Regions from separate parts of the Homo sapiens genome. Here all the other regions are linked to region 1. Evidence: promoter capture Hi-C in 16 types of primary human blood cells and fetal thymus (Javierre and others, 2016). All regions are on one chromosome and are shown on one strand. Each heading gives the region's core, a stretch centred on a gene start or on the middle of the fragment in contact. The rest is flanking DNA. Distances are from core to core; before and after follow the strand shown. Region 1 holds the start of DST (dystonin). Region 2 overlaps PRIM2 (DNA primase subunit 2). Region 3 overlaps PRIM2 (DNA primase subunit 2). Region 4 overlaps PRIM2 (DNA primase subunit 2). Region 5 overlaps PRIM2 (DNA primase subunit 2). Region 6 overlaps DST (dystonin). Region 7 overlaps PRIM2 (DNA primase subunit 2).

Evidence for each region. Contacts are between HindIII fragments. The CHiCAGO score rates a contact against its expected background, and 5 or more counts as called.
Region 2: a fragment that was not itself captured here is called in contact with the fragment with the promoter of DST in region 1 in 1 of 17 cell types (erythroblasts); the score reaches 5.6 in erythroblasts.
Region 3: a fragment that was not itself captured here is called in contact with the fragment with the promoter of DST in region 1 in 1 of 17 cell types (total CD4 T cells); the score reaches 6.1 in total CD4 T cells.
Region 4: a contact is called between a fragment that was not itself captured here and the fragment with the promoter of DST in region 1, in 3 of 17 cell types (erythroblasts, total CD4 T cells and endothelial precursors). The highest score is 7.2, in erythroblasts.
Region 5: a fragment that was not itself captured here is called in contact with the fragment with the promoter of DST in region 1 in 1 of 17 cell types (activated CD4 T cells); the score reaches 5.5 in activated CD4 T cells.
Region 6: a fragment that was not itself captured here is called in contact with the fragment with the promoter of DST in region 1 in 1 of 17 cell types (erythroblasts); the score reaches 5.1 in erythroblasts.
Region 7: a fragment that was not itself captured here is called in contact with the fragment with the promoter of DST in region 1 in 5 of 17 cell types (erythroblasts, activated CD4 T cells, naive CD8 T cells and 2 more); the score reaches 7.3 in erythroblasts.

The regions. Positions count from the first base shown.
Region 1 is chr6:56,953,068-56,956,676 of GRCh38, reverse strand. It overlaps DST (dystonin), which reads left to right and starts at 1,847. Exons shown (of 104, transcript NM_001374736.1): 1 at 1,847-2,270; 2 at 2,858-2,892. The coding sequence starts at 2,090. It overlaps BEND6 (BEN domain containing 6), which reads right to left and starts at 1,570. Exons shown (of 7, transcript NM_152731.3): 1 at 1,217-1,570. RefSeq lists a silencer at 1,382-2,071 and an enhancer at 2,233-2,864. The HindIII fragment of the contact is 5,182 bases long and covers 278-3,609 here.
Region 2 is chr6:57,444,023-57,447,631 of GRCh38, reverse strand. All of the region lies in intron 7 of PRIM2 (DNA primase subunit 2), which reads right to left. Among named protein-coding and RNA genes, the nearest start is that of MIR548U, 56 kb to the right of the region's middle. The HindIII fragment of the contact is 3,968 bases long and covers 1-3,609 here.
Region 3 is chr6:57,419,329-57,422,937 of GRCh38, reverse strand. All of the region lies in intron 7 of PRIM2 (DNA primase subunit 2), which reads right to left. Among named protein-coding and RNA genes, the nearest start is that of MIR548U, 31 kb to the right of the region's middle. The HindIII fragment of the contact is 1,528 bases long and covers 1,213-2,740 here.
Region 4 is chr6:57,384,206-57,387,814 of GRCh38, reverse strand. All of the region lies in intron 7 of PRIM2 (DNA primase subunit 2), which reads right to left. Among named protein-coding and RNA genes, the nearest start is that of MIR548U, 4.1 kb to the left of the region's middle. The HindIII fragment of the contact is 1,723 bases long and covers 863-2,585 here.
Region 5 is chr6:57,367,128-57,370,736 of GRCh38, reverse strand. The region is part of intron 5 of PRIM2 (DNA primase subunit 2); the gene reads right to left. Among named protein-coding and RNA genes, the nearest start is that of MIR548U, 21 kb to the left of the region's middle. The HindIII fragment of the contact is 525 bases long and covers 1,729-2,253 here.
Region 6 is chr6:56,539,109-56,542,717 of GRCh38, reverse strand. All of the region lies in intron 61 of DST (dystonin), which reads left to right. Among named protein-coding and RNA genes, the nearest start is that of COL21A1, 290 kb to the right of the region's middle. RefSeq lists enhancers at 1-57, 1-527. The HindIII fragment of the contact is 2,391 bases long and covers 423-2,813 here.
Region 7 is chr6:57,345,914-57,349,522 of GRCh38, reverse strand. The region is part of intron 5 of PRIM2 (DNA primase subunit 2); the gene reads right to left. Among named protein-coding and RNA genes, the nearest start is that of PRIM2, 30 kb to the right of the region's middle. RefSeq lists an enhancer at 2,068-2,568. The HindIII fragment of the contact is 8,245 bases long and covers 1-3,609 here.

The DNA.
Region 1 (3,609 bases), core at 598-3,097:
GCCTACATGCTGCCATTCAAAATTCCCACCTTATGCAGTGTCTCCAAGCAAGGGCCCTTCTGAGTTCAATCCAAAACAACTGAATGAATGAGATGCAACATGTCAACAATTCGAATGTTTATTTTGTTTAAGGAAACCAGCTGTAAACAAAACGTATCTGTTGTTTTCCATGCTTATGAATCTGGCACTAAGAGACTGCATTAACCAATGCCTTTTTAGGTTTAATACTTACACACGGTAATATGTTACTGGCTTTAAGGACATCAATGATTAAGCTTTCATGCAGAGCTGTACGGTTTTGTATAGTTGGAAAACAACACTGATTTTGAGATCACTACAAGCAAATAAAACTTTTATTCCTCCCAATTATTTACCTGCTTTTCAAATTTTTATAAATTTTTATGACACAATTTCTTCAGTCTATTAAATATTCCAAAAAAGAGGCTAATACAGTTGTTATAAGAAACTCCGCAAATGCAGTCAAGTGTTACCTTGTCACTATAATTAAAGTTTTCTTATGCGAGTAAATGAAACAAACAATCCAGCCCCACACAGGGAAAGCCAGCATTGCCTTGGGGGCAGCAGAACGCGGCACAGCACCGCCCGCCAAGGCCGCAAGATGCCGCAGAATGACTGCTGCAGCAGCCGCTTCCTGGCCAGGTGGCCGTGGCCGTCCGCAGAAAGGCACACTGCAGCGCTCTCGCTATACCTTCCGTGCTGGCATTGCATCAGTGTTAAATCCCCTGGCCACCAACTGCCATATACTTTTTGCTGGTTATGAAGAAACGTGGGGAGGGGACAAAGGGGAGACAGAGTGTGCCTGCAAGTGTGAGAGATCACTATTGCCTCACACTCCCTAAAAAATTTCTCCCCCAAATGTTTATAAGCCAAGTACCAACTTACTTCATCTGCCAGGTCCCTAAATCTGAAATCGCCTTGCCCTTCAAATGCACTAAATGAGTCAGGGTTTTAGGGCAAACCCAGGGATACAAGAAGATCGAAAGTGCCCAATTCTTAGCTGCGAGATAAGCACCAAGTTTGGGGTGGAAGAGTTCACCTCTGCCGACCAGAGCGTACTACCCCGGAGCGCTCCTAGTTTAGAGAGGCTTGGAGAGGAGTGGGCCTCCCGTTCCTGGAGTATCCCAATTCCCAGGGAAGGCCCTTCCCGGCGCTCGCGCTTCAGAGTGCGAGGAAACCCCCACAAGCAATAGCTCACCCGGCTGCATTCTTCAAAGCCCCAACCTCGGGGCGGGGCGCAGGGAGGTGGGAGGTGGAGGGTAGCACCGCCGGGAGGCTCCTGTCAGCGCCTCTCGGTTTTCCCCCTGGCTCCTTGGCGCCCCCTGACGACGGGCTCCGCAGCAATTTGGCCGAGGGAGGCTGGATAGGCGGAAGCTCCGGGTGTCCGGGAAGCTAGAGGCACCCGGCCAATGCACCCGCGGACGGCGCGGACTGGCGGGCGGCCCCGCGGGAGGGCGCTGGGCTCTCAGGCCCGGGTGCAGCCCGCGGACGCCGCCGAAACCGCCGCAGCCATGTCCGCGCGCCCGCGCTGCCGCAGCCTGGCCGTGATGTCATCAGCCGAGCCCCCGCCGCGGCGCCCCATTCCCGCCCCCCGCAGGCTGCCGCGGCTGCAGCCTGAGCGCCGCGTCCCCGCCCCGACCCACGTGCGCCCGGCTTCTGGGATGCTGAGGTCGGCGGCGGCCGCAGGACGATGCGCGGGGCCCGGGCGGCCGCGGCGGCGGCGCTGCTCCTCCCCACTCGCCGCGTCCCCGGCGGGGCTGCGCCCGGGGGCTGCGCACGGACGGGGGCGGGGGCGCCTGGGGAGGGAGGGGAGAGGATCCCAGCCGCCGAGTCGCAGCCTCGTCGCTGTCTGCTGAGTCATGGCAAGCGCTCCCCGCAGCCCTGGATCACTCGCGTAGCGCGGCTGGCGCGGGGTGCGCAGCCATTGGGCTGGGCGCGGGGCCGCGAGCGCCAGGCATGACGCGCTGAGCCGCGCTCACCCGTGCCCGCCGTCCCGGCGTGCGCCCAGCGCGGGTGCCTGTGCCGCCGCCCTCCAGCCCCGCCGTCGAGTCGCCCTCGCCTCGCCCGCACCATGATCGCCGCGGCTTTCCTCGTCTTGCTGAGACCCTACAGCATCCAATGTGCCCTCTTCCTCTTGTTGCTTCTGCTGGGCACCATCGCCACCATCGTCTTCTTCTGCTGCTGGCACCGCAAGCTCCAGAAAGGGAGGCATCCGATGAAATCGGTCTTCTCGGGTCGTTCAAGAAGCCGAGGTAAGACACGCCGCGACGGGTTTCTGCGGGCTACCAGGAACAATTAAGCCGATTTGGAGAGTGAAGCGCGGCTCGCTCCCTTCTCCTCGGCTGCCCCTAGCCCCATCATTGCCCACTCCCCAGGCTGAGTGCGTTTCTTTAACGCCCCTTGCCCTTTTTGCCGTCACCTCCGCCCTCCAGTCTCCCAGGTTTGAATAACCACGGCGATGCCGAGGGCAGGGAGGGGAGGAAAGAACTCAAATTTTTAGTCAGTTTGCTAAAGCCTTAAGGGTAATTTGAGCGTAGTCCGGGGCTGCGCCAGCCTCGCCTTCACGCATCCTTCGCTGGAGCGTAGGGGTAAGAAAGTAAGGCATGGAAACTTCGGGGCTCCCCAACTCCCCCAGAACTTTCATGCAAACTTCTCGCGGAGAAATCACGTAGAGACCGATGGCCCCAGGACTCCTCCTCCCTCCCCCAGGATGTCCCACCGAATTCCAGGAGTCTGCGATGTGCTTTCCCAACCCTGGTCTCCCAGGTAAGTCATGAGTCACTCGGTAGGTGAAGAACAAGGAGTTAAATGAAGTCTCATTTATCTCTTTTCTCCCCAGATGCTGTTTTGAGATCGCACCACTTTCGTTCTGAGGTAATTTATTTAGCGCGCACGCTCAAGGTCAGAAGAAGTTCTCTTTCCTGAGTACCAATATTAATTATATGCGTGTTAAGAAACCAGTAGGACACTGAATGACGAACATGCTGTCCCCTAGCCGAAAGTGGCATGTTTCCTTTTAAGTGATTTCATATTAGTGCCCAGCGAACGGTTTTAGCAAATTTCTTGTGTAGTGGAGCTGTTGTACAAGAGGGGAAAAGGCAAACCCTAAAAGTGCTGCAGACCTTAAAAAACTTAGCCACAGGGTGGATGTCACTTGAGTTTACAGTTTATATTTTGCTGGTGGAAGTGTTTTCTGGGTGCTGTCAGTTGACTCTGGTTGTTCACTTGGATAAACGAAGAGGTTAGTGCAGAACAATTTGATCCATATGCATTTCATTTTCGATTTTCAAGTTTACATTTCTGTTTTCTCCTAAAGCTCTCCATGTTTTATTGGGGACCATCTGATGATTTTTGCAAAGCGATGATGGTAGTGTGTGCTTAAATGCTTGTGCTAGTCTCCACTCTCAAAACGTGGACCATCCCTCTAGGGCAAGTAACTCCTAATCACTGCACCCAGGAACCAGCTCCACTGAAGAAACACAAGCGCTCCTTGACCTAGGATTTCTTTAGGAGTTTTCAGGCCAACCTCCACTTATCCTAAGATAATTTCCCCTCTTTTTAGGAAAGTTGCACGCCGCCAGGCTTGGAGGT
Region 2 (3,609 bases), core at 648-3,147, 490 kb before region 1:
CCTAGTCAAGTTTATTTCTATGCTCCTAATAGATTCTGCTTCAATTAAATCAATGTGATCATTATCTCCCACTGTTTATTTCATTCATCACACCTTCCTACCCATGCTCATTCTCTCAGGAATGCCTGCCTTCCTTTTCCTCTCCAACTACCCATATTTGGCTCGTCTTCAGGAATAGCTTAATACCCATCTCTTAGCTTTGCACCAGAAGGATCTGATCTCTGAATCTCTAATAACTTTAATAATAATTGCCACAGAGGTGTTACTTTGTTCTTCAATTGTTTCATATGTGTGTCACTTCTGTAATCATCTCCTTGAGAACAATGGGGACCAGGTTTAGCATCTCATACTAAATCCAGAACCAATATCTCCATAAATCTGCACTCATACATCTAAAAATATCATATGTCAGTCTCCAGAGCTTAATAAAGGTAAATAGATCCAGACCTACAACAAAACCAAAGCCACTCTCAATTTTCATGTATCGCATACTTTAATACATCACAGAATTTGGCAGAAAGAAGATTTTAAGCAATTGCCTGGTGGCACTGCCACTAGCCTAGGCCAAATCAGAAGCTCTTCCCTGACCAGCATCTCATGAAAGTGCTATCAGTGAGGCTTCAGTTGAGGTGGGCCTTCAAGAGTTGTCAGTGGAAGGCTCCAGGGCCTGGACTTTCTTGCTCCCAAGAGGTACCACAAGGGTAAATGTACCCAGATCTGGACCAACATCTCCTTCCAGCCCAACTTCTACCTTCCCTTCCATCATGGAACAGTAGGTGCAGCCTGGTGCACAAGCAGATGGTGGACTGGAAGGTACATCAAGGTAATGCATGGGAGATGGAGATGGCCAGCTGACTCGCAACTCACCTTGAGGGAGCAGTTATTAGGTCCCATTCCCAATCCTTACACAGGGACCTCCATTCCTGTGTTGAAATTTAAAGTTTAAGGGCTCCTTAAACAACAGCCCTGAACCTAATCCCCACTAATAACTGAATGGATATTTCTAGTGCTTCTCACCTATCCACCTTGTTTTCTGTGTATCTAGGAAAGCAGCCCCAGGCATGGTGGCGGGTGCCTGTAATCTCAGCTACTGGGGAGGCTGAGGCAAGAGAACTGCTTGAACCCAAAAAGCACAGGTTGCAGTGAGCCGTGATGGTGCCACTACACTCCAGCCTGGGTGACAGAGCAAGACTGTCTCAAAAAAAAAAAAAAAGAAGTGGCGTGTGCCAGGCCTATGCCCATGCTATCAGTGAATTCTGCCAGTTATCTGAGCACATTCATTTCCTTTCTTATTGAAGCTATTCTGAGGCAAGTTTTCTATTACTTCTAAAAAAAAAAAAAACAAAAAAAACAGTTACTCATGATCCTGAGGTAGGAAAAGGCTTAAGACAATAGATTTGAGAACAGAAAGGACTGTTCTATGCTCAAGGGCCAGAATGCTAAAGTTTTACAAGACGTCTTTTCAGAAACAATGCTATCTGGCTGTCTAGAACTGCAAACTCCTCCCAACCAATCCCCTGGCTCTGAGGAAGTATTTACTCCTCAGAGTGAATTACCAAGAAATGGCTTTGTGTGTCTGTGTATTCTGAAGAAGCTGTAACTACAGAACTAGAAAGACCATGGCTGAGCCTCACTCCACCAACAGAAATAAATGCTGAACCAGCAATGGCAGCATACACATACATTACTGTGGTGTGTCAGGCTGCTGGGAGAACAATGTTCTTCCTTCTAGTGGACAAAGACTACACTGAACTGCAGGAAGCACAACCCCTTTGGTAATCAGATTTTCATGTTTCTCTTCTGTGAAAATAGTAACCAGGACCAATTCTAAGAATGAGTAACTACCTAGAGATTCTCAGGCTACTATAAAGAGAGGAATCTGAAAAATAAAAGAAATTCTCATGAAAATGTGGCAGGCAGAGCCAAGGGTAATCTATGTGAATTAATAAAGAAGTATAACCTTCCCTTTTCATCTTGCCTTCCCTTTTGTCTCCAGTATTCAGGAATCAGCATAGTGGCTGAGGTAGCTAAGGACACAGGGCAGTGAGAAAGGGTTGGGGGTGTGCACAGGCCCAGGGCAACAGGTGCAGTGGCAAAGGAACAAAGATGGCCTAGAGGTGATAAACAATGAAGATAGCAGTGTAATTGGGAGGTCTACATACAGAAAATTATTTTTGATTGTGCAAATAAAATATATTGAGGATAATGGGTGCTATGTTACTGCCAAAGGAGGTATTTACAAACAACTCCAAGATGCAAGGTTAGAACTGAAGATATCAGTAGGAACCCATGATTTTGTTACGTACTCATATACACACACACACACCCCTCTCCTAACTCTGTCCCCTGATAGGGTCTCAGTTTCTTCAACTATGAAAATGAAGAGATACCCTAGAATCATTCTGAATCCCTTCCACTTCTAACAATCCATGATTATACGAGAATGTTGGCAAACAAAGATACCTGCCTTTCTGCAATCTGCCTGAACCTACCAAAAATAATACTTCAGAAAGATATATATCATGACAGTTAGAAATTAGTCAACAGGAAAAAGCAGAATTATCAATTATATCTATCACACAACACAAAGTAGCATGTTATAAATGTTCACTCTCTAGACGTTGTTACTGCTTAAGAAATTGTCATTTCAGCAAATAATTTTTCTTAATGCTAGAAAGATACAACATGAGCATTACTCTGCTTTAAAAAAGGAGCAAGGAGACTATCATTAACAAAAATCTGCCACCCCAAATTATTTCATTTCCACTTTACACCAGAGGAGATGAAATTTTAAATATTTAAAAACCAGAATACATACTATGCAGAGAGGAGCCAAGCAAAAGCAATTAGAATTGTGAAATATTAATTTTAGCTTTTCCTTCTTATAACCTTCGTAAATATATCAGTCAAAATGTTAACCTTTCTGCTAAAACACATAAAATGCCCTTGTAAAACAAACATGTATCTATGAACTCTTCTGCTTTGTCACAACTTTGCCATTCCTACAAGTAACGAAACAAATTTAACATAGACATTATAATACCATAATTTTTTTTTTTTTTTTTGAGATGGAATCTCGCCCTGTCACCCAGGCTGGAATGCAGTGGTACGATCTCGGCTCACTGCAACCTCTGCCTCCCAGGTTCAAGCGATTCTTCTGCCCCAGCCTCCCAAGTAGCTGGGATTACAGGCGTGCGCCACTACACACAGCTAATTTTTATATTTTTAGTAGAGACGGGGTTTCAGTATGTTCGTCAGGCTGGTCTCGAACTCTTGACCTAGTGATCCGCCCGCCTCGGCCTTCCAAAGTGCTGGGATTACAGGCATGAGCTACCGCGCCCAGCCTATAATACCATAATTTTTATTCTACTCAAATGATTCTTTTAGGAAATACATATTTAAGTAGCTGCCTACCATAAGACTACACAGGATTATGTCTAGCCACCAACATATATACTTTGAGAGGTGTTTGAATCACCCAAATTTTTAAATATATAAGTAATTTTGGCCAATAAAAATTGGCCAAATACAGAGCCCAGAAATAAACCTGCACAAGTGCAGCCAACTGATTTAAAACAAAGGTGTCAAAAATATACAATGGGAAAAGGA
Region 3 (3,609 bases), core at 727-3,226, 470 kb before region 1:
GTCTTTTACCTCCATTATTTAAAATTTCAAGTAAATGGGGCATCTCAAAAATTCACCTGCAAAATACTACATTTGTTTCCATCCTTTCTTAGCTCTTGGTATCTGACCTGCTTGCCAATTTATTCTGAAAGGTCATAATGTAAGCAGAGTTCTGCTGCATGTGGGGAAAAAAAACCTGTTTAGCATAAAACCCTATCATTTGTATACTAGCCATACCATGTAAAAAAAAAAGAATTCCATCAAAAAAATGTAAACAGTATTATTGCCACTGAAATTCTGATACATTTGTTTTAATAAAATTAGTCTAAATGGATTTTTGGTATATTAACTTGGTATCTAAGTAAAATTCTAAATTTCATTGATGTATCTTTACATTAAAGTTCTGTGATATGTAATAATACTCAGGTCATCATATTCCATTAATTAAAAGTTAATAGCAATTAATTTTAAAGCACTGCATAAAATAATGACAGAAAATATAAATCTTTAAGAAATATTTTCAGCTGAGCATGATGGCTCACACCTGTAATCCCAGCACTTTGGGAGGCCAAGGCGGGAGGATCACCTGAGGTCAGGAGTTCAAGACCAGCCCGGCCAACATGGTGAAACTTTGTCTCTACAAAAATACAAAAAGTGGGTGCCTGTAATCCCAGCTACTTGGGAGGCTGAGGTGGGAGAATTACTTGATCCAGGAGGCAGAGGTTGCAGTGAGCCGAGATCACACCATTGCATTCCAGCCTGGGCGACTGAGAGAGACTCCATCTCAAAAAAAAAAAAAAGAAAGAAAAGAAATACTTTTGAATTTAATGTCTTCTATTTGACTACATAAATTAATGCAAAAAAAAGAGTTCTATAAATTTAAACTGTACGTTTGATGAAATGTCATAGCTCAAATTATAATGCAAGATATATTTTTAAGACTGGTACAGTCAAGATCCAGTCTTGTAGATAATAAACTTATAAATTAAGACTGACATCTTTTGAATCTTTCATCTGGTTCTAGTATCTTACATCTATTCTAGATGATTATTTTGAAGCCAGAATTCAAGGAGCACAGACTTTGATTTTCAGCAGATAAATTCTATCAGAATATCAAATGTAAAGAGACTGCTCTTTGAATGGAGAAAAGAAAAGCATACAAAGACAGTACTTCAAAATACAGAAAAATGAAAATCTTGAGTGGCAGAGACTCTAACCACCAATAGTCAAGCTTCTCATTTGGCAACATAAGAGGAAGTGGGATGGAAAGCTGAAATAAAAGGAAAGACAGCATGCAAATAGCTATCACTGAATAGTCTGGCAAAAATGTAAAGCAAGGTCAAACTGTTAACAATGATCATTGTAATACTTACAAAAGAAAACTCACATTCACAATAAAAACACAGATGTCACAAACATTTAAAATTCTCTAACATTTGCTTACAGCTTACATAATAAGGCTTAATGAACACTAAAATTGTAAAGCAAAATATTTTCCCAAGTTTTGCATACTAGAGAGCTGTTGCTTCATTAAAACAAAAGAATTTGATATATCAGTGCCATTACTCAAATAGACAAACTTAACAACTAGCCTGATAAAAATCTGTTAAGGAAAAAGATAGGGGTTGTGTCTCTGGTTTCAAACTTTATTTTGTGATTTGGGCTCTAAATATGTCTAATAAAATTTTTGACTCAAATTTTATTTAATCTCTTTTGTTCCAGATATTACTTTAGTCCTTTATTCACCACTGTAAGGTTTTGTTCTATTTTCTATGACTTTCTTGAAAATCACTAAATACAATGGCCTCTTCTCAGTCTTCATACTCCTGACTATCTGCTCCTTGGTCTACCATCTTTGAGCTTCTCTGAGTGCTCTTCCATCCTTCTAGAAGATTCGTTTTCAGATTTCTTCACTGTCTCCTTCCACCATCTGCCCTGTAATTGTGAAAAGCCTCTCCTTTCTCCCCATTTCATGCTGCTACCCTTAGTACTCTAATCCAATTTCAATGCAACCTTGAATAACTGTCACTACTATCCCTGATCTCTTTTCTGAATGCTAGAATTACATTTCCAATTACATGCCAGATATCTCCACAAGTGAATATTTCTATGGCATCTCAAAGTAAACATGTCCAAAACTAAAATCATTGTTCCATACCCTCCAACATCCAAACAGACCTACTATCAACATAGTTATTTTCCTTCCTCCTCCAATTCACCCCAAAATACAATCTGATACCAAGTCCCCATGGATTTTGGATCAATTCTTAGCCATCCTGGCAGATATCAAAAAGCCTCTGTCTTCATTTTGCTGCCTTATCTTCTAATCAACCCAGGACCAGCTAAGATTGTTAGCTGAACATGGAAGAAGCTGACTAGCAGAAAATGAGTTTATTAAAAGGCTACTAGGAAGCTCACAGAATTGTTGGGAAGATGAAATATTATTCTTTTTTTTTGAGATGGAGTCTCCCTCTGTCACCCAGGCTGGAGTGCAATGGTGCAATCTCAGCTCACCGCAACCTCCGCCTTCTGGGTTCAAGGGATTCTCCTGCCTCAGCCTCCTGAGTAGCTGGGATTACAGGTGCACGCCACCACACCCAGCTAATTTTTGTATTTTTAGTAGAGACAGGGTTTCACCACGTTGGTCACATTGGTCTTGAACCCCTGACCTCGTGATCTACCCGCCTTGGCCTCCCAAAGTGCTGAGATTACAGGCACGAGCCACTGTGCCTGGCCAAAAAACTATTCTTAAAGTTAAGCTTCCAGGCTCAAAAGAGGAACTAATTAGTTCTAAAACAGGACTAATTATTAATAGAAAATGGCCATCACTGCTGTTTAGCATCCCACAGAGTACTAAAGAAAACCACTCCCACTGTGGGAAATCAATCTAGCAACCACCAAAAAGACACTGCTGCCACCAAAGGCAGAAAGTCTCTGCTCACATCCACCACTGCCACCACCAAACACAAAAGCTCGATGAAGATTCTGTTTCCTCAGTTCCAAATCAAAGTCCTGTTCTGTTTCCTCAGTTCCAAATCAAAGTCCTGTGAGAGGTGAGTCTAATCAACGAAGTATAAGTCATATGCTTATGATCTGGTTACAAAAGAGAATGAGAATTTGAGTGCTGTCTTCTATATTGGTGGGAGTAACACTTACATTAGCAAGACATTTTATTTATTAAAAAAAAATTCCCAAATGTAAGACTTTATTCAAAAACCGAGGGTTAAATATGAATGCAACCACTACTACATACTACCCCTCCCTCCTGCCCTCATCTCCAATCCTATAATAAATTCATACAAAATCATACCAGAGTCTGGTAAATATATATTAACAGAATTGCTGGAACTGGACCCAGTCTCTAGCTCAGAGTATTTGGCTGGAGCCCAAATTCCCTGCCTGCATGATGCCAGCCACTATGCCCTAGGAAACCACACCTTGTTCCTAAGACCAGTAAATACTCCCTCCCTTTGTCATAGCTGGTTCCTCCTCCACACAGTACAGACCACCAAAAACCTCCTCAATGCCATTACAGGCTTTATAAATTGGAAATAACAAGAAACTTTTGTCACTGTATCACATACACCAAAGTGAACCCTATTGGACACCAAAACCAACCTAGAATAACCC
Region 4 (3,609 bases), core at 475-2,974, 430 kb before region 1:
AAACCTATGCATGGATGAACAAATAAAAAGTTATTTAAAAATAAACCATTAAATAAAAGAACTGGCTATAGCTTCTAAAATTGCCATATGAAGCAAAAAAAATCTATCTTTCCCTCATTCTTTTCCCTAACTGGTTATCAATCTATTCTACCGTAGCTCCAAATTCACCCCTTGGGCCTGCTCTGTGACTGGACCTTAATATACTTACCTTTGAATATTTTATCAGAGTTTGAAGACCTAAATCACCTGGTTATACAACTCCTGACAAAGGCACAGTTACCATCAAAAGACCCTAAGAATTACAATCAGAAAACCTGAGATCAAGTCAGGGCTCCAGCAATTATTAGCCAACATAATCTTAGACAAATTACTTTGGCCTCTCTGTGCTGCATTTTCCTCATCCATATAATGCACATTATAACCCCTTTCTCTCTCAGTGACTTATAGTGGGATTAACAGTATGTATAAACAGTAAACTGTGAACAAAAGCAAGTTTATATCATTATTTGGTATCTGTCAGTTCAATAAAATTTTACTGACCACTAACCCTATGTGCCACATGCTATACCAGATAAAAATTTGAATTAAGAGAAATTCCTCACTCTCAAAGAACTTACATTTTAATTGAGGAGGAAAACACATAATGAGAATAATTTCACCGTAATTTGGTCGTGTGCAGAATGCTGTGGGAACACAAAGGAGATATACTTAGCACAATCTTGGGACTTAAAGGGAAGGTTCTGGGCCACAGAGTTCCTATCAAAGGAAAAAGTAATGTCAATTTTTTATCAGTCCTAAACCATGTTCAAAAGCTAGATAGTCATATTATAAAAGTCATATGGTCACAGGTTAAGAATAAGCTTTCAGTTGTCACCTGGGGTAAAACTCTCATCAATTTACAACTTCCCCCAGAACCATTTATTTCATCCTCTACCACTCATCAAAATACCTTTCAAAAAATCTACTTTAGGGTACTTTTTCTTATCCTACAAGAATATTTCCATTTATAAAGCTGAAAGTTTTCAATTACATACTCCAAGGTCAAAACCTTCCTCAATGGAAAGGACAGTAATAAAGAGACCATAGCAATAGGTTTAGATTTCTACTTCGCCACAGCCCTAAATGAACTCCTTCGCTTCCCTCCTGCTCCTTTCCACAGCTGTCAGGACAGGCTCCCAGGCAACAACTCCCACCACTCTCCTACATAAGAAAAAGTGTTCTCTGGACCTCCTCTCAACCAGGCTCGGCCCTGAACCACCCAGGAGAAAGCAAGTCACTGTCTGTCTTCTATTAAATCCAAGACACCAAGGCCAGAACTCTCCACAACCCACCTGTAATCAGGACAAATCCTTTTCTTTCTTTCTTTCTTTCGTTCTTTTTTTTTTTTTTTTTTTTTTGAGACAGGGTATCACTCTGTCGCCCAAGCTGGGGTGCAATGGCATGATTATAGCTCATTGCAGCCTTGATCTCCCAGGCTCAAGTGATCCCCCCACCCCAGCCTCCCAAGTAGCTGGGACTACGGGCACATGCCACCACGACTGGCTATTTTGTTGTTGTTGTTGTTGTTGCTGTTGTTGTTGTTGTTGTTTTTAGTAGAGACTGATTCTCACTATGTTGCCCAGGCTGGTCTCAAACTCCTGAGCTCAAGCAATCCTCCCACCTCCTCCTCCCAAAGGACGAGGGTTACAGGTGTGAGCCACCCCACTCAGCCAGAATAAATCCATTTAAAGTAAATCTAAATCCATTAAAGCTGTACACAGATATACTCAATACCCTACAATTCCATTCCTAAACACATAACCAACAGAAATATGTTTTCCAAAATATGTGCTACAATGTTCAGAGCAGCAGTATTTGTGATAACCAAAAAAAAAAAAAGAAAACAAAAGCCAAATGCCTATCAACAATAGAATGGATAAATTTTGATAAAGTCAATCAGAATTGGGCTGAATCAAAATCATGTAATCTGATAGAATGCAATGAAAAGAACATAGCATAACTTCTGTTACAGTACTACTTGAAATGTCTAACTTGAATCTAGGCAGAAACATCAGATAAACCCAAACTGAGAGATACAAAATAACTGCTGATAATCTTCAAAAGTAACAAAGTCCATGAAAATCTAAGAGAAACTAAGAATCTATTGCAGACTGAAGGAGATTAAAGAGACGTGACAACTAAATAATACATGTGAATTAAAATTGCCTGTGGAATGTGATTGAGAAAACTGGTGAAACTTGAATGGGGTCTGGAGGTTAGATGGTAGTAACTTATAAACATTAATTTTCTTATTTGGATGTTGAATTGTGGTTATGCAGGAAAATGTTCTGTTTGAAGGAAATAAACACTAACAAGTATTGGGGGTGCCAAGACATCAGGCTGGGAACTTATTCTCAAATGGTTTAAAGAAAAAGTTGCTATTTTCTACTTAATTTTCTGTAAGTCTGTGATATTTCAAATTTTTTTAAAGTATTAATTTTTTAAAAAGTATGTTTGGAAGGGGAAGAATGAGTAGAAAGAAGTGAAGAAGAATGGAATTCAAAGTTCATAAATACTCTTATTTCTTAACAACAAGGTAGAAAGCTTAGGTGCAGTTGGCTGAAATGAATTTATTACAAACTTAGGAACCCAAGTTCTGTCTTTTCTCTCAGTATAGATCCCCCACTTCTACCCAGAAAGTAGAAAAAAATTGTAAAATTTTGCAAAAATCTGCCACATATCCTTCTTTCTACACTGGAATATTGGGATGATAAATCACAAATATACATAGAATATCTTGACTTATCTAAAATAAAAATGTGTGGCAAATGTAAAATTTTTTTTACATTTTTAAAGTTGCTTTCAAGGCAAATTTATAAAACAGTCAAAACTTATTAAAAATTTATTTAAACTTTGCAATACACAAAATCAGAAGTAGCTTTAAACCCAAAAGTAAAAGAATTTCAGATGCATTTTCATAGTTAGGTTTTTGGGCACTGGGCAGCTTGGCTTGAAAGAAATTACAAAGTGAAAAACTTTGTACATTTAATTCATATTCAGTGTCTTTTCTAGGTAGTAGACAATTGTTGTCTGCCTCCCCATCTTCATTCTCCCCTCTCCCCATTCCTAACAATCATCCATTTTTGTTTGGGATATTGTGGTTTCAGGAACACACTGACTCTCAGCTCCCATGATACCCCATCTAAAGGGGCAGACACATGATCTTAGGCTAGGCTATCCCTTAAACCACAATAGCTGCTTTAGTGATAGACATGTGATATGGGTTAAACTCTGTCCCAAGAAAATCATATGTTGAGGTACTAACCCCCAGTACCTCAGAATGTGACCTTATTTAGAAATAGGATTGTTGCAGATGTACTTAGTTACAATGAGGTCACACTGGAGTTGAGAGGTGACTGATATCCTTAGAAAAATGATACCCCAATATGACTGATATCCTTAGAAAAAGCAGAATTTGGGACATGCAGGGTGAATGCCATGTGAAGACTTGAGTTATGTTGCCACAAGTCAAAGAACTACCAGAAGCCAGAAGACAGATGTGGAATAGATCTTTCCCCAGCACCTTCAGAGGAAGCATGGCCATGCCGACACCTTGATTTCAAACTTCTG
Region 5 (3,609 bases), core at 742-3,241, 410 kb before region 1:
GGTGGCAGGGTGAGACTCCATCTCAAAAAAAAAAAAAAAAAAAGCTATAGATAGAATTCTAAGGAATTCAATGTGTTTCTAAACTTTTCACCCAAAGTAAGCAAACACACTCTAAATCATGCACTTCGATCTAAATTTCATGTCACTTCCTGTTTCATGGCCTATGAGTAAATATTCTGGTTTTCTTTGATGAATTAAAAAATACATCCATTTGTCAAACAAATTCTAAATCTTCATTTATCTATTTAGTTATAACCAAAATGGAAATGGAAAATACAAGACAATTCTCATTGAAAAATGTAGGATGACTGTCAGAAACTTTACTATTAAATAATTAGTATAAACTGCTATTAACTTCATTATTTTGAAATCCTAAAATAATCCTGAATATTCTCTTTACTCTTGCTTTCTCCTTAAAAACTATTGGACAAAATATAAGGATATTTCATTTATTTAGGTTCTCCTAAATGAGATTACCTGCTGCATACCTAAAAAAAATACTCATTCTCTGAAAGAGCAAGACAAGATTAAATGGCTTCCTACTTCTACTAACAAAGAATACAAGTAAAAACAGATAGAGTGGAACAATTATAAAAGCAGAGTAAAGTAGTAGAGAGAATAGTTTTCAAAATCATAGAAACCTGTCTTTGAATCTTAAACAGGTTAGTTAACCTCTTTACACCTTAGTTTCTTCAGGGATAAAATGAAGAAAATCATACCTATCTCATGTAGCTTTTCTTGGGATTAAATAAAGTATGTAAAGTGTGTACAATAGGCCTAACATACAGCACACCCTTAGTACATGGTAAACACTTGTTGTTACTACCTGTAATTTACATTTTGATTAGTTTCTGTATTTCAGGCTTTTTCCTCAAGTAATAAAGTGAAATGTTTACTGCAACTAATGCAGTTTCTATAAACTTGTCATTTCATTAAACTAACACAGGTCTTGGTGTATAGGGGAATTCAAAATAACTGATAAAAGCCAGCTAGGTTATCACTGCAACATCTTATAATCAAGGTGTAGTATGCTTCACAAAGTAAACATCCTCCTAAAAAGAGGTGTATAAACAAATGGCTCAACATGAAACACACATTTTTTGAGTGACTTACATTACTATTTTAGAGATGCTCAACCTTCACTCTGATTAATGTCCAATCAACAGAGACTCTGAACATTCTAGCTTTGAAGTTCTGCTCTTGCCACTACTACTCATAATTCCCCACATCTCAATCCCTATTATTCATATCCACCCACTCAACAGTCAGTACCTGAATGTTTCAAATGGTAGCACATGGTATAACGGTATAGTTTTTTATCAAGTAAAAATTACACTGGGTTTTAACTGTTTTGGCAAAGTTATATTTCCATATTCCAAAATTATGTTGTTTTATATGCTGCCTTGCTAACAGAATTAAGGATTTTGGCTGTGTGTCTTTTTCTTTTTTATATTCTTCATCAAACCAGGAACTGAGAGAGGCAATTTCACTCTGTTGAAATCCTGAAAGCAGATTAAGGAGCAGCTCTAGAGAGGCAAATACTCTACACAGTAAATAGAAGGGTAGTGGATGTCTGTGTAGACTGTATCGCTATTCACCCTGTACTGAGTCCCTCACTGAGGGAGAATTATACACCCCCTACCTGCTGAACTAAAGTGTAGCCAAGTGACTTGCTTTGGCCAGTGAAATGTGAGTGGAAGTGACGTGTGTTATTCCTAAGCAAAAGCTTTCTGAGCATGTATTTTACCCAGTTCTCTCCTCCTTTTGCCGCAGCAACTGGTGAAGTTCCGGTATACAGAGCCTACTCGATCTGCCTGAGTCCAGGGACAAAATGACACACAGCAGGGTTGTAGCTGGCCCATGAAGACACAGAATATGAACAAGGAACAAACCTTTCTATAAGTCACTGAGGTTTGGGGGTCGTTACCAATGCATAAACTAAACTGACTGGAACAGTGACCTTCATCTTTGCATCACACATTGTCATCAATGAAGTTTTTTCAGCACATACTTCCAATATATGTATATTTATTTATAAATTATATGTATGTATTACTGTACATTCTGCACTTAAAACATGCCATACCCATCCCCAAAATGTGGAACGGATGAGACTAAAAATATATGTTGTATTATTTATTTCTTTCCCACATTCCCAAATGATCATCTTGGGGATGCCATGTTGGAACCACTAGTCTAGTACACTGGCATCAAAAGTAAAGATATAAATAAGGCTTCCCAGAGATTTAAGCTTCTATAAGCTTCCAATCAACAATACTCAATCACATTTATAAATAGTTTGGATAGTTTCTATTTGAATCTACAGAGCTTTCTTAGACCCTGGTCATTAAGTAAGTATGTACATTACTTGCCAGTGAAGCTTTTTAAAATTACAGATTCCTGGTGCCACCCAGACCTACAGACTGAAGCCCTGAGCTGTATGTTTTTTTTTAAGGTCCATTAGTGGTTCGACATACATCACTGGTCTAAACAGCATATCCCAGGAAAAGAATCCGCTTTTCTAAAATAAATGTATGATATATATATGATATATATAAAACAATTAGGAATCATTTCATTTATAAAGAAATTAAAACTGTGAATAGATCAAATGCTGAAAGCAAATATCATAATTTTTAATACTGTTATTATCATTTCAAATAAATATAGGTTCTATATTGGTAGCAAATACTGTGATTATAAAGGGCAATTTGTTTCCCAAATGCACTGTGATGTAATCATCAATCTGGAGTACATGGGGATTAAAGATGGCTGCAAAGTCTTTGACACATCCTCCGTTGAGAGCTAAGATCTATTTGCCCTCCCCTTGAATCTGGCCTGGCCTGTGACTACTTTGACAGGAACGAGTGATGCCCTGCCAGGCCCAGGCCTATTTTTTGAGAGGACTGGCAGATTCTGCCTTGTTCACTTGGAGTCCTAGATCATGAAGTAAGAAGTCCAACCACCTCGTTTGAGGGATCACATGGAAAGGCGTCCAGCAGAGTCCAGCCTTTTAGAAGTCCTCACATATGCACAAGCATGTGAGTAAAGCTGTCTTAGACATCCTAGACCAGACTAGTTGTCAACTAAGAAAGCCCATATATAATACTATGTGGAACAGAACAATTGCCCTGTAAGCCCATTCTGAATCCCTAACCCTCGAAAGTGTGAGATATAATAAGATGGGTACTGTTTTAAGTTTTAGAATTAAGTTTTGATTTTAAGTTTTAATGTTAGGTTTTGGAATTGTTGTTTTAGGTTTGGAGGTATTTCTGACACAGTGATAAATAACCCAAATATTTATCAACCTAAAATAAGTTAGTTTTAAACATTTTTTTCTATCTGTAATCCAGTTCTTACAAAGTACTTTCTTCATTTAAATGTATAAAGGAGAGCCATATAATAGGAAAAAATTTTAATTGGAAAATCTTTAACAAAGAGACAAAAATAGAAAATAAAAAAGGAAATAATTACCACTCTGTGGCTGAATTAATTAACTAAAATTGATAGGATAGTATGGTACTTCACTCACAAATTTTTTTGTCATTTATAATCATCCAAAACATTAAAAGTTAGAAAATGAATAATTTAATATCCTGACATTCTAAT
Region 6 (3,609 bases), core at 369-2,868, 410 kb after region 1:
CAGCCCCGGAGCTCCCTTCCGGAGTTCTTTCTGCTGCCTCCACCGCCACCGTCTCTCTCTAGCCCCAGCTGAAATGAAGGCCATACCGCGGCCACAGAACTTGGTTCAGTTTCAAAGGCTAATGTAGTCCCTGGGTTTTCTGCTCAATGTGAATTACGCTGCCTGTGCCTTAGAGGAAGCCGCGGAGCTCTTCGTTGCTGCAATTGCCTCAGGTGGAATAAGCCTTCCTAAGGAGGACCAGATAAGAATCTTTGGAAATGGCTTTTTTTTTTTTTTTTTTTTTTTTTTTAAAGAAGCTTAGTAGTACACCATGCTTTCTGTTTACTTTAAACGGTTGCTGGATTGTACTGCCCTGGGTGTCTAAAAGTCTGGTGTTTTTTTCTTTCTTCCTTTGAGTAGTTCTGAATAGCATTGAAGAAGCTTAAAACAGGAAGAAAACCTGCCTTTTCAATCAAGTTTATTTATAGCTACTCCCCCCTCCAAAAAAAAAAAGTAAAAGAAAAATGTAACTTTCTCATAACGTTAGACTTAACTTATTTTTCTCTGAAGATTTGTTCTGTGCCTTGATGTGAACAATACCAGGTCCCTGTGTTTGTCTTTTAAATTTCTGGAGCATGGTTTATTTACCAGAATGGTGGAGTTCTGCAAGCCATCTTTAAGTGGATTACAGTTAACCAGAGCTCTGCCGAAATTAACATTCAGGCTGTTAAAATGCTTGCTCATTTGGAAATTTTAATCTGGAAATATCAGACTAAAAAGGGAAATGGACTGACAATGGAATGTTCTGAGTGTTTGAGCCACTGTTAAGTGTGTGTTTGTTTATTTTCTGTGTTTTGGAGTGTGTGAACGGGGACTTTGGGAGCTGGGAAAGGTGGACAAAGGAGATTTTTGTTCTCTGTTATTGATGCACTTTATTGTTTAGAATCATCCTAAAATCAACCAGGTAAAAGGATAGTTGCATTTATACTGATGCACTGCTGATGACCTTAAACACCTCATGTATTATGAAATATATTATTTGAGCATGTGTCTTTATGCTAAAGACACTCCATAGCTCTGTTCAGAAGTATACTTTTTTGGAAGATGCTTTATCTTATTTCTTATCTGTGTCAAGAGCTGCAATATTTGTTTTAACTATCTGCAAAATGGGGAAGCCACTCAGCAGACCAGACTGTTTACGTCAGAATCCCCCATGTGTAGGGAAGGGTGAAGAAGAGGAGGACCTAAATATCGAAGACTGTTACGTCCCACAGCGGTCAATCTATGATACTGTTAGACTAAATGAACAGATAGACTCTGGTTCAAAAGGTAGTCTATCTTCCAGGCATTTTACAGATCGAACTTTACCCTACAGTCACAGAACACTGGATGTTAGTTCTTTATGCTCTAATGGTGCCCTTACTTCTTCCAGTGTATTTGAGCTGAGAGGTCGGGAAGCTAACAAACTAGATGAAAAGATGATCTTTGATGCACTCAAACTAAATAGTGATATCATTCGAACCACAGGATTACCTAAAGCCAAATCTCATGCGGAAAAGAAAGAGCATAGACGGTCATGGCGAATGTTTGTCCCGGCCAATTTTATGGATTATGCAAACAAAAGTGAAAGCTCTTTTGTTGAACCTGCTGATATGTCAGATGCTGTTACCAAGGCCAGCAAGTGCAGATGGGGTACTAATTCTCTCACTTCGGAGGAGGATGACTCTGGTTTATGTAGCCCTCCAGCAGAGAGGGAAGAAAAACAGGGCATTTTAACTGGAGACCAGTCACGAATTAAAAGTTTGTCTTCTACTGAAGATATTCTTGTAACAGACCAATACAGACCATTTTTTTCTGTTAATTCCATTAGCGAACAGAAAATCCCACTGCTTTCATGTCAAAGTGCCCACCCTGATGAAAATTTCAAAATGATTTTACATGATGTTTCTCCACTAGAGGAAGCAAAACATGTAAATGGTCAAAGGGAAATCCACGATGAAAATTGTTGCCTGCAGAATAATTTGAAAGAGAGCCCTGTGAAGTGTGACCCATTAATTATGCCAAGAAATAGAGAAAATGAGCATATTTTTAACCTTGGAGAAGAGGACGAAACATACGGACCTGGAGAATCCCAAATCACAGCACAAAGTAGGGAACTCTTGAAGGATTCCCCTCAAGATTTAGATCTCTCTCACACAGATCTAGGGGAGAGTGATGTAGATTGTGGTAGCACCAGCTTAGTAGAAAATGTGACACTTTTGACACAATATGATTCAGGAGAATGCAACATTGCATCTAAAGAGGAAGTGGAGGCTCCTCTTTCTGCCCAGGAGAGCGAAATGCTCTATAAGAAGTTCTCCCTGAAATTCGTATCAGCAAGAAAGAAAGCAGCACCCAGAAAAACAGGGGCCCAGGCAGGAATATTGGACACAGTCTGCAATGGCTTTCAGTTGGTTCAGGTAATTCATGGAAATATGAAACTCTGCAGTGTCAAAAGTTTGCGGTTCTGCTAAAAGTTTGTGGTTCTGTTTCAGAGTGGTCACTAGTGTTTCTAATAATAATGAAATCCACACTTTTGTTTTGGAGGTTTGACTAGCACCCTGCAAGATGCCACATATTGATAAATGGATAATTATAACAAATTAATAGGGACTGTTTTGGAGAAGAATTGATATTCCCAGCTGTTCAGGGTCCTGTTATTGATTGTGCAGATGGTGGCCATTCCCCTTCATTTAGAAGGCCTCCACTGTGAATATATGTTAATGTTAGGCTTTTACACAAATTGTGGTAAAGACACTGCCATTTAAGAGCCATTATATTGGATTTATTAAGCTTGAACAGGCTTAGTCATGAAGGTACAAACAGTATTATATTGTTATGGCCTGCAAAGTACTCTATCCACATTAAGGACTTTTTTTAATAGGTTGAAAAATTTCTCTCAGGAGCTCTGCATGTGAGAGTAGAGTTATTATGCTGTACTTTGCAGGCATTATAGCTCCCAACTTTTTGTGAGTGGTGAATGAGGTAAGAAAGTAAAGGGTGCAGCCTTGTAATAAGTAGAGATTGCTTGTCAAGCCTGTAATTTTTTTCTTCCCACTCAGATTGAAGTTCAGCTGTTTTGGTACTTTTACTAAACTCTTCTGGTAAACTTGGCCTCAAAGGTAGTTTTATTTTATTTTAAACTTCTCTTCATGCTTGTGTGCTGTGGGTTAGATTAGGGGGAAAGGCTCTCTTCATAGGTATTTTGTTAACATTGAGAGATAAGGAACTTAGACAATATCAGAACCGTTCCTCTTCTCAGTCTGTGAAATAATTGTTCTTGTTAGTTATGCCTTTTTCTTAGACATGCAGTAAATGGCATGCTAATTTAAAAGCTTAGCAAATTAATTTTTTTCTGTAAAGGATATTTCAGTTTATTTGTAGAAAACAATTAAATCTTAGGGGAGTATATACTCTTTAGTAGTTATCTTTTTAAATCCTTAGTATATTTTTGGGGGCACTTTAGAAAACTATCAGATTTACCTAGATCTACTCCAATATAAACCCCTGAAATTAATTTAAAACCAAGACCAGAGGTTAAGGCAATTTAATAGAACATTATTGTTATCCTTTTGTCCTGAAAACTATATA
Region 7 (3,609 bases), core at 565-3,064, 390 kb before region 1:
ATAAAATTCACAATTTTTTAATATCAATAGAATTCCATAACTAAATATATATAAAATATTTAAAAATTTAAAACAAAAAAATAGTGGCATACATAATTGATCAGACACAGTGCCCTAGACTACATGATCAAGTAGTTAGATACCATACCCATCAGCAAAAACATCGGGAATAACCCACCTACCAATGCAAACTGACACGGTGTGTGCATTGGTGTTTCAAATACCACATCAGTGATGTTCTTTGTCAAAAAAGCGAACTCAGAAACACTCAGAACGAAACAAAGTATTATCTTCCTCAACTCATAGGCTAGTTGGAGTCCAGGAACAATGAGGGTATACCAAAAATATGGGGGAAAAATATTTTGTGTTGATTTATAGAACAGTGTTTAGTTGTAGATTCAGATAATTAGAAACAGTTTAGTTTTTTGGTTTCTGGGTTTCTGTTGTTGTTCACATGAATATAAAAAGTCAAAAAGGAGGCCAGGCATGGTGTCTCACGTCTGTAATCCCAGCACTTTGGAAGGCCGAAGCAGGCAGATCACCAGGTCAAGAGATCAAGACCATCCTGACGAAAATGGTGAAAACCCGTCTCTACTAAAAATACAAAAATTAGCTGGTCGGGGTGGCACACACCTATAGTCCCAGCTACTTGGGAGACTGAGGCAGATAATAGCTTGAACCCGGGAGGCAGAGGTTGCAGTGAGCCGAGATCGCGCCACTGCACTTCAGCTTGGCAACAGAGAGACTCTGTCTCAAAAAAAAAAAAAAAAAAAAAGGGCAGGAAGGATGTGGGAAAATCTGTGGTTGTACAGAACTACTCAGTGCACTGTAAATGCACCAGCATCCCCATCTCCTGTCTACTAAACACCTGTTGGACTTGCCAATCATTTTTACAAACACCAAAAATACCATAAAGATGGCCAAAATATCCAGCAGGGGTGACTATAACCCCTATAGTCCAGAACTACTGGACTGAACCAACAAGCCATCCTTGTGAAAGGCTCAGTTTGAAACAGTAGGCTTTCCTCTATGGCATCTCTCTTGTGAGATAGTAAAAAAAACCAACTCAAGTCCATAACTTTTCTTTTCCTGGCCTATTAAAATAATGACTCCCACTTCAAGTACAAAATCTACTGCCTGATAAAACTTAATTTAAAATTTTAAAAATATATTTTTTACCTACTGCCTGGATTTTGATTTACACTGATCTTTGAATATTATACATGAGTTAATTGTTGAACATGAACTAAAATATACAATGTGATCTGAAAAATGTTTTTAAAAAGATAAACAAAAGGTAGCAGAGAAGAAAAACAAAAAGGGCATAGAAAAACTACGGGCTAGAAAACAAACCCCTCAACGACTAAGTTGGATGAATATAATGTTTTCCCTAGAGATGGCAATATTATACCGAGAAAGCTACCAATGGTATATTTAATATATTTGGTTTCCATTCCTGCCAACAACTGTCAGCTAAAATGAAACATCTCAGTAAAATTATAGTTAATGCTTTAATTTCCGAAACTAATGTAAATCTCTAAACTCACACCTGTGTTTGTATAGCACTTTTGATGGGCCCTGTCACCTTAAATGTCAGCATCTATTCCACTTCATTTCAATAGTTAAGCTGTGAAGAAATCTACTCATATATTTAGTAACATGCTTTGTGACTTATACATCTCTAAATATTTAGAAGACTAATTTTAAGGAAAGTTACTTAACCTGTCTGAGCTTCAGTTTCCTCATGGAGCTGTTGTGAGGATTAAATTACATAAACCTGGCTGGTCACAGTGACTCACACCTGTAATTCCAGCACTATGGGAGGCCAAGTTGCAAGGATCACTTAAGGCCTGAAGTTCAAGACCAGCCTAGGCAACACAGTAAGAACTTATTTCTATAAAAGAAAAAATTAGCCAGGCAGGGTGGCATGCGCCTGTATTCCCAGCTACTTGGGAGGCTGAGGTGGGAGGATCACTTCAGCCCAAGAGTTCAAGGCTGCAGTGAGCTGTGATCACACCACTGCACTCCAGCCTAGGCGACAGAGCAAAACTGTCTCTACCACAGAAGAAGAAGTTAAATTTTTTTACCCATGTGAAGTATTTACCAAAGTGCCTGGCACTTAACAAACACATTACAAATGTTAGCTATTAGTGATAATCTCTCCTCAGTCTCCTTATATCACCAGATAAATCTAAACCTTAATAAGTCCACTACTTATACAGTCATCAATAAATATTCCTCCTTTAGAAAACAAGGACCCCATCCAAGTCTGGAAACAGTCCTCTGGGTTTTCCAATATTCATACAGAAGCCTTATTCCTTGGACCAACTAAAGGGAATTGGAATATATTTGGCTATTAAGCTCCAAGATAACAGAAGGATTCTCCTGGAATGGGGAGAGCACACTTTGACCAGAGATGAACAGGAAACAAAGCCAGACAGGAGGCAGGTATCAATAGCCGAAGTACAGCACAAGGTATTTGAAAGTCATGGAGATAAACAAACAGAAGCAAGCAGAGAATAAATGGAGACAAGTCCAGAATAGGGGTATTAACTGTGCTGTTGTCCTTTGTATGCCTTCAGAGGGGTGGGGAGTAGCAGAATGGATATATTCACAGGGCCTGGACCAAATGGATTTGTTACGCAACTACTTCCTCCTCCCTTTGTAACTCAGATTAAGCCACTCAAAGACTGAGAACACAAAATGATTACCTTTACAACTCCATTTGCCCTCCACATCCCTGGTTCTTATTCTCATCCAAAAGACCTAGGATAAGGCAATCTGACCTAGACTCTGAACTAGACCATGACACAAGACTTCAGCCAAAAAGAATTAACTTTTCAGGGAACTTGGAGGAAAGAGGGAAAGATTATAAAGATTATGGAATTTTTAAAAATGTATACATGGCTGGGCGTGGTGACTCACGCCTGTAATCCCAACACTTTGGGAGGCCGAGGTAGGCGGGTCACAAGGTCAGGAGTTCAAGACCAGCCTGACCAATATAGTGAAACCCCGTCTCTACCAAAAATACAAAAATTAGCCAGGCATGGTGGTGGGCGACTGTAATCCCAGCTACTCGGGAGGCTGGGGCAGGAGAATCATTTGAACCCAGGAGGCGGAGGAGGTTGCAGTGAGCTGAGATCATGCCATTGGACTCCAGCCTGGGCGACAGAGTGAGACTCCGTCTCAAAAAAAAAAAGTATACATTTAAAAGCTCAGTATCTTTTTTCAGAACACCTTCAGAAACCATGAGTAACACTGCCAAAAGACTCTAGTAGAGCGAGAGCAACTCCATCTTGAACAAAGGCTGGATCAAATGAGGCTCGCACTTGATGGGCTGCATTCCCAAGAGGTTAGGCATTCTCAGGCACAGGATGAGACAAAGGGTCAGCAAGACTGGCTATGACAAGACAAAAGGTCCTAAAGACCCTGCTGATAAAACAGGATGCATTAAAGAAGCCAGCCAAAACCCACCAAAACCAAGATGGCCACAAAAGTGACCTCTGGTCATCCTTACTGCTCACTATATGCTAATTATAATCCATTAGCATGCTAAAAGATACTCCCACCAGCACCAGTACAGTTTACAAATGCCATGGCAACATCCAA